3 separate regions of the Homo sapiens genome follow, and regions 1 and 2 are each linked to region 3. Evidence: promoter capture Hi-C in 16 types of primary human blood cells and fetal thymus (Javierre and others, 2016). All regions are on one chromosome and are shown on one strand. Each heading gives the region's core, a stretch centred on a gene start or on the middle of the fragment in contact. The rest is flanking DNA. Distances are from core to core; before and after follow the strand shown. Region 1 overlaps RNASEH1 (ribonuclease H1). Region 2 overlaps SLC30A6 (solute carrier family 30 member 6). Region 3 holds the start of UGGT1 (UDP-glucose glycoprotein glucosyltransferase 1).

Region 1 (4,409 bases), core at 1,254-3,753, about 120 Mb before region 3:
GATCCACTTGCTTCAGCTTCCCAAAGTGCTGGGACTACAGGCGTGAGCCACTGCGCCCAGCCAACATCATCTGTGTTGTGAAAATCCCACAGACCGTAAAGTTTCTAAAGGCACAACTTTTCATCTATTTCCAATTCTGGTTCAATTTTTTTTTTTTTAAATCACAGATTCTCAGAAGACAGAGGCAGCAGCAGGAGCATGCTTTTTGAATCTTCTCAAATCCCCACCTAAAAACAGAACTACTAAACAGCAAAACCAAAAAACTTATGGACATTTGTAACAGAATGAGGTGACAAGTGTTGACAAGGATGTGGAGTGAACTGGAACTCTCCTGCCTGACTGGAGGGAATGTAAAGTGTAAAGTTCACACTTGGAAAAGTTTCACAGTTTCTTAAAAAGCACACACCAGCTGGCTGGGCTCACACTGTAATCCCAGCACTTTGGGAGGCCGAGGCAGGCGGATCACGAGGTCAGGAGATTGAGACCATCCTGACTAACACAGTGAAACCCCACCTCTACTAAAAATACAAAAAAATTAGCCGGGTGTAGTGGCGGGCACCTGTAGTCCCAGCTACTCGGGAGGCTGAGGCAGGAGAATGGTGTGAACCCGGGAGGCAGAGCTTACAGTGAGCCAAGATCACGCCACTGCACTCCAGCCTGGGTGACAGAGTGAGGCTCCATCTCCAAAAAAAAAAAAAGAAAAAAAGAGCACACACCTGCCATATGACCAAGCATTCCATTCCAAGGCATTTACCCAAGAGAAACAGAAGACAAAGACGAGGATATAAATGTTCACGGCAGCTTTATTTGCTTTATTTTTATTTAGAAATTGGAAATAATCGAAATATCGGTCAACAGGTAAATAAATAAACTGTGGTATATCCATGCAATACAAAATGTGGATTATTGATGTACACAAAATGGGTGAATGCCAAAATAATTATGCTGAGTAGAAGCACCTCCCCCCACAGTACTTGCTCTGCGATTCCACTCAGATAAAATTCTAGAATATATAAATTAACCTTTAGTGAGAGGGAGCAGACCAGTGGTTGCCTGAACATGGAGGACACGAGGGACGGTTTAGACCGGGGTGTGAAACTGCTGTTGGTGGTGATGGACATGTTCTGGCGACAGCTTCACAGGCAAATGCATCGGTCACTTCACGTATGTGCAGTTCATTACCTGTCAGTTACACCTCAACAGAGCTGTTTTAAAAAGCAAGGTGGGGCCGGCTTTGGTGGCTCACACCTGTAATCCCAGCACTTTGGGAGGCCAAGGAAGGAGGATCGCTTGAGGCCAGGAGTTTAAGACCAGCCTGGGCAACACAGTGAGACACTGTTCCTATTTTAAATAACAAAACAAAACAAAAGTGGTACAATAACAACTTTTAAAACTCAAAAAGAAACAAAGAAAGAGATAAAAGAGATTCAAGAGACAGTGGCAAACACTGAGAACAGCCAATTTAGATTTCAACATACAGATAACAGGGATCCCCACAGAAAAAAGCCAAAGCAAGAAAAATGTAACACTAAACTCCAGTTCAAGCAAATCTTCTTAAAATAACAGATATGAAGTACACATAGAAAGAGCACACCATACGCTTGCAAATATGGACCAGGACAACCAATACCAACACATGACACATTCGAATAAAACGGCCGACTTGACAGAAAAAGGAAAAAATCCTTTGGGCATCTAAGGAAAAACAGCATATGACTGTCAGGGGAAGAAAACAAGATTCATCAGGCTTTTCATGCATCACTTTATGCTGGAAGAAAACAGAATAAAACAAGATACTCAAAGAAAATCTGGGCCAAGAATTTCGTATCCAGCAAAACTGAATTCAACATCAGAAACTCAAGGAATACTGTCCCCAAGATGACACTGACTATAGACTGGTTATGAGACCTGAACACACAGAAATGAGTCAATGGTGGTAAAAAGGAGCAATTTTTCTGACAACGTAGACACAGTGCTGTTTTCATCATCACAATTAATGCTATGGTATTAGTATTTTTTTTAAATGCTAAATGCTAAAGAGGAATAAAACAAGTGAGTGATTAAGGGATGGATATTCCATGCCATTGTCCTGTGTCTTGAGAAGCAGGATTCCGAGTGCAGGAGACACAGACATCATATAGAGGAGGCTATGTAAAGGCCCCAGGACCCTGAATTTGTATTGGGAATATCAATATAGGCTCAGAAAATATTCTTCCTTTAAATATGTGTGTGCAATGTTTGTATTTTTTTAAAGCTCCGTCCAAAAATCTAGAAATAATGACCAACGCAATAGCAATGAGCATCCTAAACTGGATCTGAAATACCATCTCTACCAGAGACTCTGGGAAAAATAATGGATTCCAAGTGTTAAACGGAATTAAGTTTGGCCTAAAACTGCCTCTGTACATAGTGACTTATAACCTCACTTAATGTATAAGCAAACTGGGACCTGACTTGAGAGTACACTTCTGTAACAAGCAGCAGAGTCTCACCAATCACATGCTGAAGGCTCCCAAAACATGCCTATGTGAGGTGGAGGCTGACCTGCAGTCAGTCTGGCCATGTACATGTGTCTTTCCCTTCCTGTGGCTATAAATAAATACAGCCTGCACACAACGCACAGGAGAACGTTCTGAACCACTTTTGGTCCTGAGTGCTACCCAGCTGAAGAAACTATTTTCTGCTCAATTAAACTGCTAACTTGTCTAAAGTTTTTCTTTTAAGACAGGTTTGGAGCAGAAGCTCTATAAATTGGGCCTAGAGCATCTTGACATGCCAGGCTGCAGGGAGCTATCAATGACTGTGCGTGTGGTCTGTGCACACATGTATGCACACATGTGCACACTTATCAAAAGAAAGCAAGAGCCAAGCTGAAGAGGCTCCCTCTCACTGACCGAATAAGCTAGTCTGAGCTAAATAAAGATAAAAATCACAACGGATTGAAACCCACCAAGTATGCTTAACTCCACAAATTCTTTTTTTTTTTTAAGACAAGGACTTGCTGTCGCCCAGGCTGGAATGTGGTGGCATGGTCACAGCTCACGCATCCTCGACCTCCTGGGCCCAAGCGATCCTCCCATCTCAGCCTCCAGAATAGCTGGGACAACAGGCAGGCACTACCACACCCACCTGATTTTATTTTAATTTTCTGTAGAGACAGGGTGTCACTATGTTGCCCAGACTAGTCTCAAACTCCTGGGTTCATGTGATCCTCCAGCCTCAGCCTCCCAAAGTGCTGGGATTACAGGCATAAGACACCATGCCCAGCCCATGAATTCTTGTATATATGTAAAAACCCTTCACCACTCACCTTCCTTGACAGACAACTAATGCATTATCTTAAAAACTTAGTGTACAAGAGCAAAGAATCAAGCATTTATCCTGCCCTTCCTATATGAACTGTACCACTGGGTAACCAGATAAGTATAAAAAAGAAAACACTTTCTTAGAAAACCATTCCAGCTAATAAAGGCAAGCAAAACGACAGAATGAGAATACCACCATTTTGCAACCCCAAATAATTAATGGATCTTGGCACTGAGCATCAGCTGCCGTCAACATGGTACTTTCCTGAGGAAAGCTCCTAACCGCCTGTTCTCCTGCCAAAGGGATCAAATTTGAGGCTCATCAAGCCTCTGGACCCAGCTGCCAATGTGCAGGAAACATAGAGGACCATGCTGAACTACACCATGACCACGTGGTCAGCAAAATCTACACTGTGGGAAGCCATGGGACAAACAGCCCAGGCTCTTCAACAGATAAACGGCAGGGAAAACAGTGAGGCCGACGGGACTGCAAATGGACACTGAAGTAGATAAAAAAATAAACAAAAAAAAGCAGACAAGACTAAACTGCCATCAAAAAACCAAGAAAGTCATTTCTGTAAAAGTCAGGATTACTTGTTGGGGCAAGGAGGGGGAGAAGAAGAGGGCTGTGGCTGGAGGGGCACTTGGGAGAGCCTCCTGGGGTATCTGGCAAAGTACTATTTCTTCACCAGGTGGTGGACACAAAGGTTATTCACCTTACAATCATAATCATTCAATAAGCTATACATTTGTTTTGTGTCACTTCCTGTATGTTTTTATAATAAAAAGGTTTAAAACTAAATAAATAATCATGTCAAACTTTTACTACTTTTTTTTTTTTTTGAGACAGAGTCTCACTCTGTTGCCCAGGATGGAGTGCAGTGGTGCAATCTTGGCTCACTGCAACCTCTGCCGCCTGGGTTCAAGTGATTCTTGTGCCTCAGCCTCCCAAGTAGCTGGGACTACAAGCCCGTGCCACCACACCTGGATAATTTTTGTAATTTTAGTAGAGACAGGGTTTCGTCATGTTGGCCAAGCTGGTCTCAAACTCCTGACCTCAAGTGATCTGCCCGCCTTGGCCTCCCAAAGTGCTAGGATTACAGA
Region 2 (4,290 bases), core at 254-2,753, about 96 Mb before region 3:
TCAGATTATACACCTTCATTAACTCACAGCCCTAATTTAAGAAAGTAAAACTTGAATCTCTTGTGTTTTTTACCAGTAACATCTGTAATCCTTACAGACGATGTTAAAGTTGTGTACTTATTTGTCTTTCTCACTTTCTAGACTGTAAGCTCATTGAGAGCAGGACCTATGTATTTCACCCTAATTCCCAGAGCTTTGTAGCGTGCCTGGCCCAGAGGAAGTTTTCAATAAACATCTGTTTTATAAGACACTGAAAACTTATGGCACTATATCTTTATGCTTGAAACATTAGTATTAGTCATGCAGGGAAACAGTATTTAAGGTTTATTTTAAAGGATATTGAGAAAAGGTTTTGCGTTTATTAAGAACATGCTATGTGAAAACAGTACTTTCTTAGAAAATATAAAGAAAAATACAAATAAAACGTCTGTTTTATAAAGCACTGAAAACCTATGGCACTATATCTTTATGCTTGAAACATCAGTATTAGTCATGCAGGGAAACAGTATTTAAGGTTTATTTTTTAAAATAAATATTTTAAAATAAAATATTGAGAAAAAGGTTTTGTGTTTATTAACATGCTGTGTGAAAACAGTGCCTTCTTAGAAAATATAAATAATATAAATATATAATATTAAAAATATAAGTATATAAAAACAAAATATAAAGGAAAATAGCCCTTGTCATTAGTGAAGTTACTAAAATTACAAAGCAATGTAACAAGTTGAAGGCTTTACTTTGGTTAATGCAAAATAAGTGGCATAAAAAACACTATAGTTTGGAATGATCTAGGAAGACTTCATTTAAGAAGTGAAACATGAAACTAAGTACTTTGTGCCCCACTCTAATACTCTTAATCTAATACTTGTTTGTCATTATATGAATAAGAGCTTGGGTTAGACAGATCTGGCCTTTTCACGCAAGAGTGGTCATGAGACAAAAGAGTAGACCAGTTTAACTGAAGTTGAGGGTTTCTATCTGGAGTAAGAGATAAGACTGGAAAGAAACAGGCTAAGTCATTGAAAACCTGGAAATTCAGGTTGTAAAATTTGTAGTTTATTCTGATAGCAATGGCGAGCCAATATAATTTTGGGAAGAGTGATATGACATTAGGATTTTTGTTTTATTTTCATTGTCAGGATGGCATCAGAAGTGGCTTTCTGCCTCTTAGAAACCTTGTTGATTCTCTTAACCTGAAACTTAAAGTTGGCTAGGGTTAAACAGAAGATGTCCAAAATAACAGTATTAAGGAGAATTTTTTAAATCTTTGGAACCAAAATAACTCACACATAATTCTTTAAGAAAAGAATATATATACATATGTACATACACATATATATAATATTTATACATATGTACATTTATTTATGTATTTATTTATTTATTTCGAGATGGGGTCTCGCTCTGTTGCCCAGGCTTGAGTAAAGTGTGAACCTGGCTCACTGCTTGACTTCCCGGGCTCATGCGATCCTTCCACCTTGGTGTCCTGAGTAGCTGGGACTACAGGCATGTACCACTATGCCTGGCTAATTTTTTTCTTTTCAATTTTTTTGTAGAGACAGGGTCTCAGTATATTTCCTAGGCTGGTCTTGAACTCCTGGGCTCAACTGATCCTCCTGACTCAGTCACCCAAAGTGGTGGAATTACAGGCATGAGCCACCATGGCCAGCCAAGAAAAAGATATATTTATTGGCTGGGTGCGGTGGCTCACGCCTGTAATCCCAGCACTTTGGGAGGCCAAGGCGGGCGGATCACGAGGTCAGGAGATCAAGACCATCCTGGCTAACACGGTGAAACCCCGTCTCTACTAAAGGTAAAAAAAAATTAGCCGGGCGTGGTGGTGGGTACCTGTAGTCCCAGCTACTCCTTCACCGCAGAATGGGGCTGCGACAGAGTGAATATCCTGTTTGCCGTGTAGCCTATATTTAAAATCAGACTGTCCTCCTCAAAAGCAGCTGGAACTGAGGTTCAAGAGATGGATGTGACTGTGTATAGGGAGAGGCATACCATTTTTATTTTTAAAGTATCAAGAGAAATCATGATTTCACATTAACAATACAAAGTTGCAAAAGCAAATGTGAATAATGAGCAGGTACTGATTTGGCCAGCTTTATAAATGTGTAACTTTTAAAACTGGGTTATTCATCTTTTTAAAAATAGTTTGTGGAAGCTCATTGTGTATAGAGAAAATTGGCCTATTGTCTGTTGTGAATTATAGTTTTTTTTCAGTTTGACCTTCTTAAAGTTTTTTTCCCCCTTAAGGGTATTACATTCGCCCATGAAATTATATAGTAAAATCAATCAATTTTTTTCCTTTAGAGCTTCTTGGGTTTTATGCCCTATTAAGAAAGGCTTCCCCCAACTCCCAGATTATAAAATAATACATCTAGACTTTCTTCAGTCAAGTACTCTATAAATCTGTATTTTATTTTTAAAAATAACAACAGAGTAAGGAGTAACGGTAAGGGTGAAACATTACCTTGATCAAAATACCATTTATTGACTGGCTTATATTTTCTCCCAGTGATATTGGATACTGCTTTTCTCATAAGTTAATTTCTCATATGTGTTTGAACTCTCTGTTCTGCTAAGGCTTTCCCATGTGATTTCCTAAACTTGGGTGGTTAATCCCCTCTAGTTGCCACTTGGTCTCCTCTCTCATTGGTGAGCCCTATCTTTACTATCCCCAAACTAACTATACACTAGCAGGGGCCAGGGAGACTAGCCAGGATGTCAGATACTTTGACTGAATGCCTAAGAGAGAATCTCAGGGGTTTTACTATAATAGTTGCCTGAACTTACTTTCTTTTTGAGACAGAGTCTCACTCTGTCACCGAGGCCAGAGTGCAGTGGCACAATCTTGACTCACTGCAAACTCCACCTCCCAGGCTCAAGAGATTCTCACGCCTCAGCCTCCTGAGTAGCTGGTATTACAGGTGTGCACCACCACACCCAGTTCATTTCTATATTTTTAGTAGAGACAGGGTTTTGCCATGTTGGCCAGGCTGGTCTCAAACTCCTGGCCTCAAGTTATCCCTCTGCCTCGGCCTCCCAAAGTGCTGGCATTACAGGCATGAGCCCCAAGCACAACCACATATATAGCTTTAATTAGGTGAATTTTCAGTAGAAATTTCCAGTAGAGCTATTTGGCAAACTATTTCTTTTTCAGTTCAAGTTGCCTTATCCATTTAAAAATAAAGAGTGTGGTCTGGAGCTAAAAAGCCTGGGTTTGAATTTCTGCTCAGCCATTTACTAGCTCTGTGACTTTGGATGACTTACTAAAAGTTGTCTCCACCACATAGGTTTATTGTGAATATTAAATCCATAAATACACATAAAGTGTCTAGAATAAGTGCTTGATGTATATTGAGTACTTAATAAATATTGGTTATTTATATCATAGGAACCACTATATCATATCATAGGAACTCTGAAGATGATTAAATATCTAAATGCTGATTTGTATATGTTTGTTTGAAAGGGGACAATTCATCTCTTTCGAAAACCACAAAGATCCTTTTTTGGCAAGTTGTTACGGGAATTTAGACTTGTAGCAGCTGACCGAAGGGTAAGTTATTCCTTAACCCCAATTTTAATTATTGCACAAACAACATTATAACATTGAAGAAAGATAATTTTTAAGGCCAATAGAAATCACTCCTGATCCTGCCACACTGTTTTCATTTTTCTATGTTGGAAAAGTATTTTTTTAGTGTAAAATTGCAGTTGTTTGGTGTTAAGTTGTTTTACTTTGGTAGGAAGCTTCTGTTAAAGTTTTGATTCTAATTCTGAAGTGTTTTAAAGAAAAATGGTTTTGTGGTTGCTTTTTGTTATTAAGTTTTCAAAAAATTAAATGGATCCAGTCTAAAGCCATGTTTTCTCTTTTATTTATTTTTTTTTTTTTGAGATGAAGTTACACTCTTGTTGCCTAAGCTGGAGTGCAATGGCATGATCTTGGCTCACCGCAACCTCTGCCTCCCGGGTTCAAGCGATTCTCCTGCCTCAGCCTCCCAAGTAGCTGGGATTACAGGCATGGGCCACCACGCCCGGCTAATTTTTTGTATTTTTAGTAGAGATGGGGTTTCACCATGTTGGTCAGGCTGATCTCGAACTCCCGACCTCAGGTGATCCGCCCACCTCGGCCTCCCAAAGTGCTGGGATTACAGGCGTGAACCACCGTGCCTGGCCCATGTTTTCTCATTTTTAATGTAGGGCAAGAAAAATATGTTTTGAGACTGTAAATAAAAAGATGTAATTGCCATCCTTTTAGGCCACCAATGTAAACCTTCT
Region 3 (4,251 bases), core at 467-2,966:
TTTTAAACAAGAGAAAGTAGACAGAAAGATGTTGGTAAATGCTAACTGTCCATATTCACATAGAGACCCAGTGTACTCTCCGAGCCCAATATACAGAGAAAGCAGGAAGAAAGCTAGAATTGAATGCTCTGCTACACATGGGCCTAGAGCCCTCCAGCTTCCAGCAGGGCGAAGGGAGCAGGTTTTTCTTTTTTCCCACAGAGCTGGGGTGATGTTGATTCTATACAGTTTTTGCTCAGACAGGAAGGGATAAAAATGAATTTCGAACAGAAAGGGGTAGAGACTCTTTTCCCATTGTATTCTGCTGAAGTTATTTCCCCCAAAATAAGTTGAGAACTATAGTGTAGAGAAAAGAAACCTCAAGAACAGGGCGACTGAGCACAAGAGAGAAAAAACAAAAAACAAAAAAACAAAAAAACTGCAACTTGCTCCCAGGGACTGGAGAAAATGTAAAAAAAGGAAGGTTGGAATCCATCAGTGTTTTTTTGCTGTTGTTGTTGCTGTTTTTTTTTTTTTTGAGATGGAGTCTCCCTCTCTCGCCCAGGCTGGAGTGCAGTGATGCGATCTCTGCTCACTGCAAGCAACCTCCGCCTCCCGGGTTCACGCCATTCTCCTGCCTCAGCCTCCATCCTCAGCGTGAGCCACCGCGCCCGGCCTCCATCAGTGTTCCATTAGTCATCTCCTTCATCCTCCTCTCCTTCCTCCCCTTCATCATGTTGGCTCATGTTTATTTATTAAAATTATTTTGGGCCGGGCGCAGTGGGTCACGCCTGTAATCCCAGCACTTGGGAGGCCGAGGCGGGTGGATCATCTGAGGTCAGCAGTTCGAGACCAGCCTGGCCAACAGGGTGAAACCCTGTCTCTACTAAAAATACAAAAATTAGCCAGGCGCGGTGGCGCACGCCTGTAATCCCAGCTACTGGGGAGGCTGAGGTGGGAGAATCGCTTGAATGCGGGTCGGGGGGTTGGGGGGTGGGGGGCGCGGGCGGGGGCGCGGAGGTTGCAGTGAGCCGAGATCGCGCCACTGCATTCCAGCCTGGGAGACAGAGCGAGACTCCAACTCCAAAAAAATATTTTTGGCTTTTCATTCACTTTGACTTAATATACTTAAAAATATACCCTCCAAAGAGGTATTCATTTTTGGGTGGGTTAAATGCTACCTATTCCAAAACAATTTTAAACTGGTTTATATTAGTTAAAAAAAAAATACTAAAAGGACAAAGTAGTCCCTGTAGACTAAGCTGCCGCTGTCCGAATAAGAAAGCTCAAGCGGCTCATAAAATTTAAAAAGTCTTCCTTTCATCATGCCTCCTGGAAGGTAGCTATCAAAATTTTAGGGTTTAGTATAAAGTCTAAGATGCTCAGAAACATTAAGACAATTGTCCTTACTGTGCCACCGAAAGGCTAAAGGGAGTAAGCTTTTAACAAAGGTTTAAGGGAGTAAGTCCCAGAGTCCAAACTGGATTTCACCGACTGACTGTTGAAGCTTTCGGGTCTCAGCTGTTGGCCCAACGAACCTTCCCAAGACCTTGAAGACCGGCAGCCTACCCGCCACCCTGAAAGGCGGAAGTGAGGAGAGAGGCAGGACTCCCCCCTCCCCAACCCTCGGAGATGAGAGGGCGACCGCGCGACGCTCTGGGCTGCTAGGTCTCGACTCGGTATCCGGAAGTCCTCCAGCGTTCGCCTGCAGGAAGCGGAAGTAAAAGGGCGGCCGGCAGCTGGGCAATTGCTTTGCGAGGCTGGGTGTTGAGTCGAGCCGCGGGAAAGGCGCGTGTCGGCCTCTCACTGGCGCAGCCTGCACTGCCGCTGCCGCCTCGCCCCGCCCTGCCCTGGCGTTGTCTCTGGCACTGTGGCGGACTGACCACGGCCCGGGCATGGGCTGCAAGGGAGACGCGAGCGGTGCGTGTGCCGCGGGTGCGCTGCCGGTGACAGGTACCCAGGGGTGGCGTGAGGAGGCCTCGTGGACAAAGAGAGGGTTTGGGGCACAAGGCGACCCTGTGCCCCTGTCACATTGAGCTTCCGCCTCTACCGTGACTCAGTTTACCCTCTGGTGTCCTATCCCTTCCCCTATTCGCGAGCGCCCCGAGTTGCCCTCAGTGGTCTTCTTGGCAAGGTATCGCTTCCGCGGGGGTGGCGGCGGGCTCTGTTCAGCGGTCTTGAACCTTCTTTGAAGAGCTTTAGATCCTTGTGCCAAGTGCAGAAGGAAATGGGGGAGGTATCCTACCATGGATTTAGACCAAGCTTGATCCTCAGTGAGTTGAGAAGCAGCACTTTGCAGGACCCTGATTGCAGAACGACGTGCTTTTTAAAATAGATTTCAATTTTTCCTAAAATGAATTCGGGTTGATGCGTATTGGTTACTGTTTTCTTTTAACACTGTGATCTGTTGGCTGGAAATTGGATGATATGGTTTCACTTTTAGCGTGGGACCTGCCAGAATGAGATCTGCGTCCGTCGCCAATAACTTATAGATGTGAACTGTTTTTGTTCCTTGGCCAGAATCTGCAGTTGTTTTGCATTTCTTGCCAGATTTGAGAAGGAGCAATTTTGTTCGTTTGAAGTCCTGGGGTCTTTTGCCTTATTGTGCTACACTAACTGTTTTGGAAACATTCATTGATGTACTTGCCAGCCAATTTTAGTGTAAAGTGCCCTCTTTCCTTCAAGAATCTTACACTTGCAGGCGTTTGAAGACATTTTAAATAGCTATTTAACAGCACCACAAAACTTGGAATAATTGTAGCCTTTTCACTTTGCTTTTTTTTTTTTTAAGCCAGTCGAATTTAGCAACACTTGACTTGCTTTTGATAAACTTAGCTGAAGCTTATTTTAAAAAAATTCTTATTTATTTATTTATTTATTTATTTTGTAGAGATGAGGTCTTGTTACCTACCAGTCTGATCTTGAACTCCTGGCCACATGAAACTTATTAAAGGAAGTGACCATAATACTTTGTACAGTAGCATAGCACATTTATAATGCACATTGAACTTCAGGGGAATATATGAAAGTAAGAAGAAAATTTGCTTAGAACTTTCCTGCAGCTGTCTGTGAGCATTTTCTTTTTTTATCTAAGTTTCCCTGTAACAATACAAGATGATGTGATAATTTTCTTTCTTTCTTTCTTTTTTTTTTTTTTTTTGAGATGGAGTTTCACTCTTGTTACCCAGGCTGGAGTGCAATGGTGCAAGAGATAGTGTTTTAATTTATTTTTTTATTTTTTGTTGGTGAGGCAGAGTCTTGCTCTGTTGCCCAGGTTAGAGAATAGTGACATGATCTTGCTAGCTGCAGCCTCCACCTCCTGGGCTCAGGTGGTCCTCCTACCTCAGCCTCCTACGGATGGTTGTTGATAGTTGGGCCTAGAACTTGTTAAAGAGTGTTTTCTGTTTATTCATCATGCCGCAAGTATAATGCTTATCATGCAAAGCCACATGGCACATTCTGTTGGCCATTATCTCAGACTGTTTGTCTTTATAAGCAACATTTAAGAACCCCTAGGGTCAGAATGATAAGGGATCCTATAAAATGAAGACATACTCAAAGCAGAGACCACTTCAGTGAGATTCTTACGTCTGCTTCTCTGGACAGTCTTTTCCTCTGGTTTTACCTGTAGAGTTAAGAATGTGGGGTCAGAGTGGCAAAGCTCTTTTTTAATGTATAGCTTTCCTCCTTTTTTCATCTCAAATGGTGCTGCATCTCTCCCCAAGAACACGTACTCTCTCTCCTTTTTGAAAACAGTGTAGGGGGATCTCGAGGCAGGCCACAGGTTCATAGGATTTTCATTTTACCTATCTTGCAGTCCTAGGCATTTTATAGCATCTTCACTCTTGGTGCCACACTCCTTTCCTGTTGTTTCCATTCATGCCTTAATGAATGAGGCCTGTGTTTATTTCATTTTGAGAGCCTTCTATGTTTCAGGCATAATGCTAGGCGTGGAGACCATGATAGACAAAACACCCTGCTCTTGAGGAGCTCCCATCGGTCCCCAAAGCCAGCGTAAGTGTGGATCTGTCAGATTGGTTGGTTGGATTGCTTCGGTCCCAGCTTCAGGCCTCCTCCCTTGGTTTCAGGTTAAAACTATTCCTTTCTCAGCCACCTGTCTCCCAAGAACTGTGGCCACTGAAAATCCTTGGACTTGCCTTGGTTCTCACAAGCACTTTTCTCAGTCTGAGTCTGCACAGAGTATGGCTTTTTACCCTTTTGTAAAGCCAGAGAACCAGAGAAGAGAGCACGGTATTGTAGAACTTTAAAAGC

The links. The method cuts DNA at HindIII sites, captures the fragments that hold promoters and counts their contacts. A CHiCAGO score of 5 or more calls a contact.
Region 1: a fragment that was not itself captured here is called in contact with the fragment with the promoter of UGGT1 in region 3 in 1 of 17 cell types (naive CD4 T cells); the score reaches 5.9 in naive CD4 T cells.
Region 2: a fragment that was not itself captured here is called in contact with the fragment with the promoter of UGGT1 in region 3 in 1 of 17 cell types (non-activated CD4 T cells); the score reaches 6.4 in non-activated CD4 T cells.

Annotation. Positions count from the first base shown.
Region 1 is chr2:3,540,645-3,545,053 of GRCh38, forward strand. It overlaps RNASEH1 (ribonuclease H1), which reads right to left. Exons shown (of 8, transcript NM_002936.6): 8 at 786-4,409. Among named protein-coding and RNA genes, the nearest start is that of RNASEH1, 15 kb to the right of the region's middle. The HindIII fragment of the contact is 6,001 bases long and covers 1-4,409 here.
Region 2 is chr2:32,167,806-32,172,095 of GRCh38, forward strand. SLC30A6 (solute carrier family 30 member 6) reads left to right here. Exons shown (of 14, transcript NM_017964.5): 2 at 3,482-3,568. Among named protein-coding and RNA genes, the nearest start is that of SLC30A6, 4.1 kb to the left of the region's middle. The HindIII fragment of the contact is 4,514 bases long and covers 1-3,760 here.
Region 3 is chr2:128,089,484-128,093,734 of GRCh38, forward strand. It overlaps UGGT1 (UDP-glucose glycoprotein glucosyltransferase 1), which reads left to right and starts at 1,717. Exons shown (of 41, transcript NM_020120.4): 1 at 1,717-1,932. The coding sequence starts at 1,875. RefSeq lists an enhancer at 1,479-1,788. The HindIII fragment of the contact is 755 bases long and covers 1,485-2,239 here.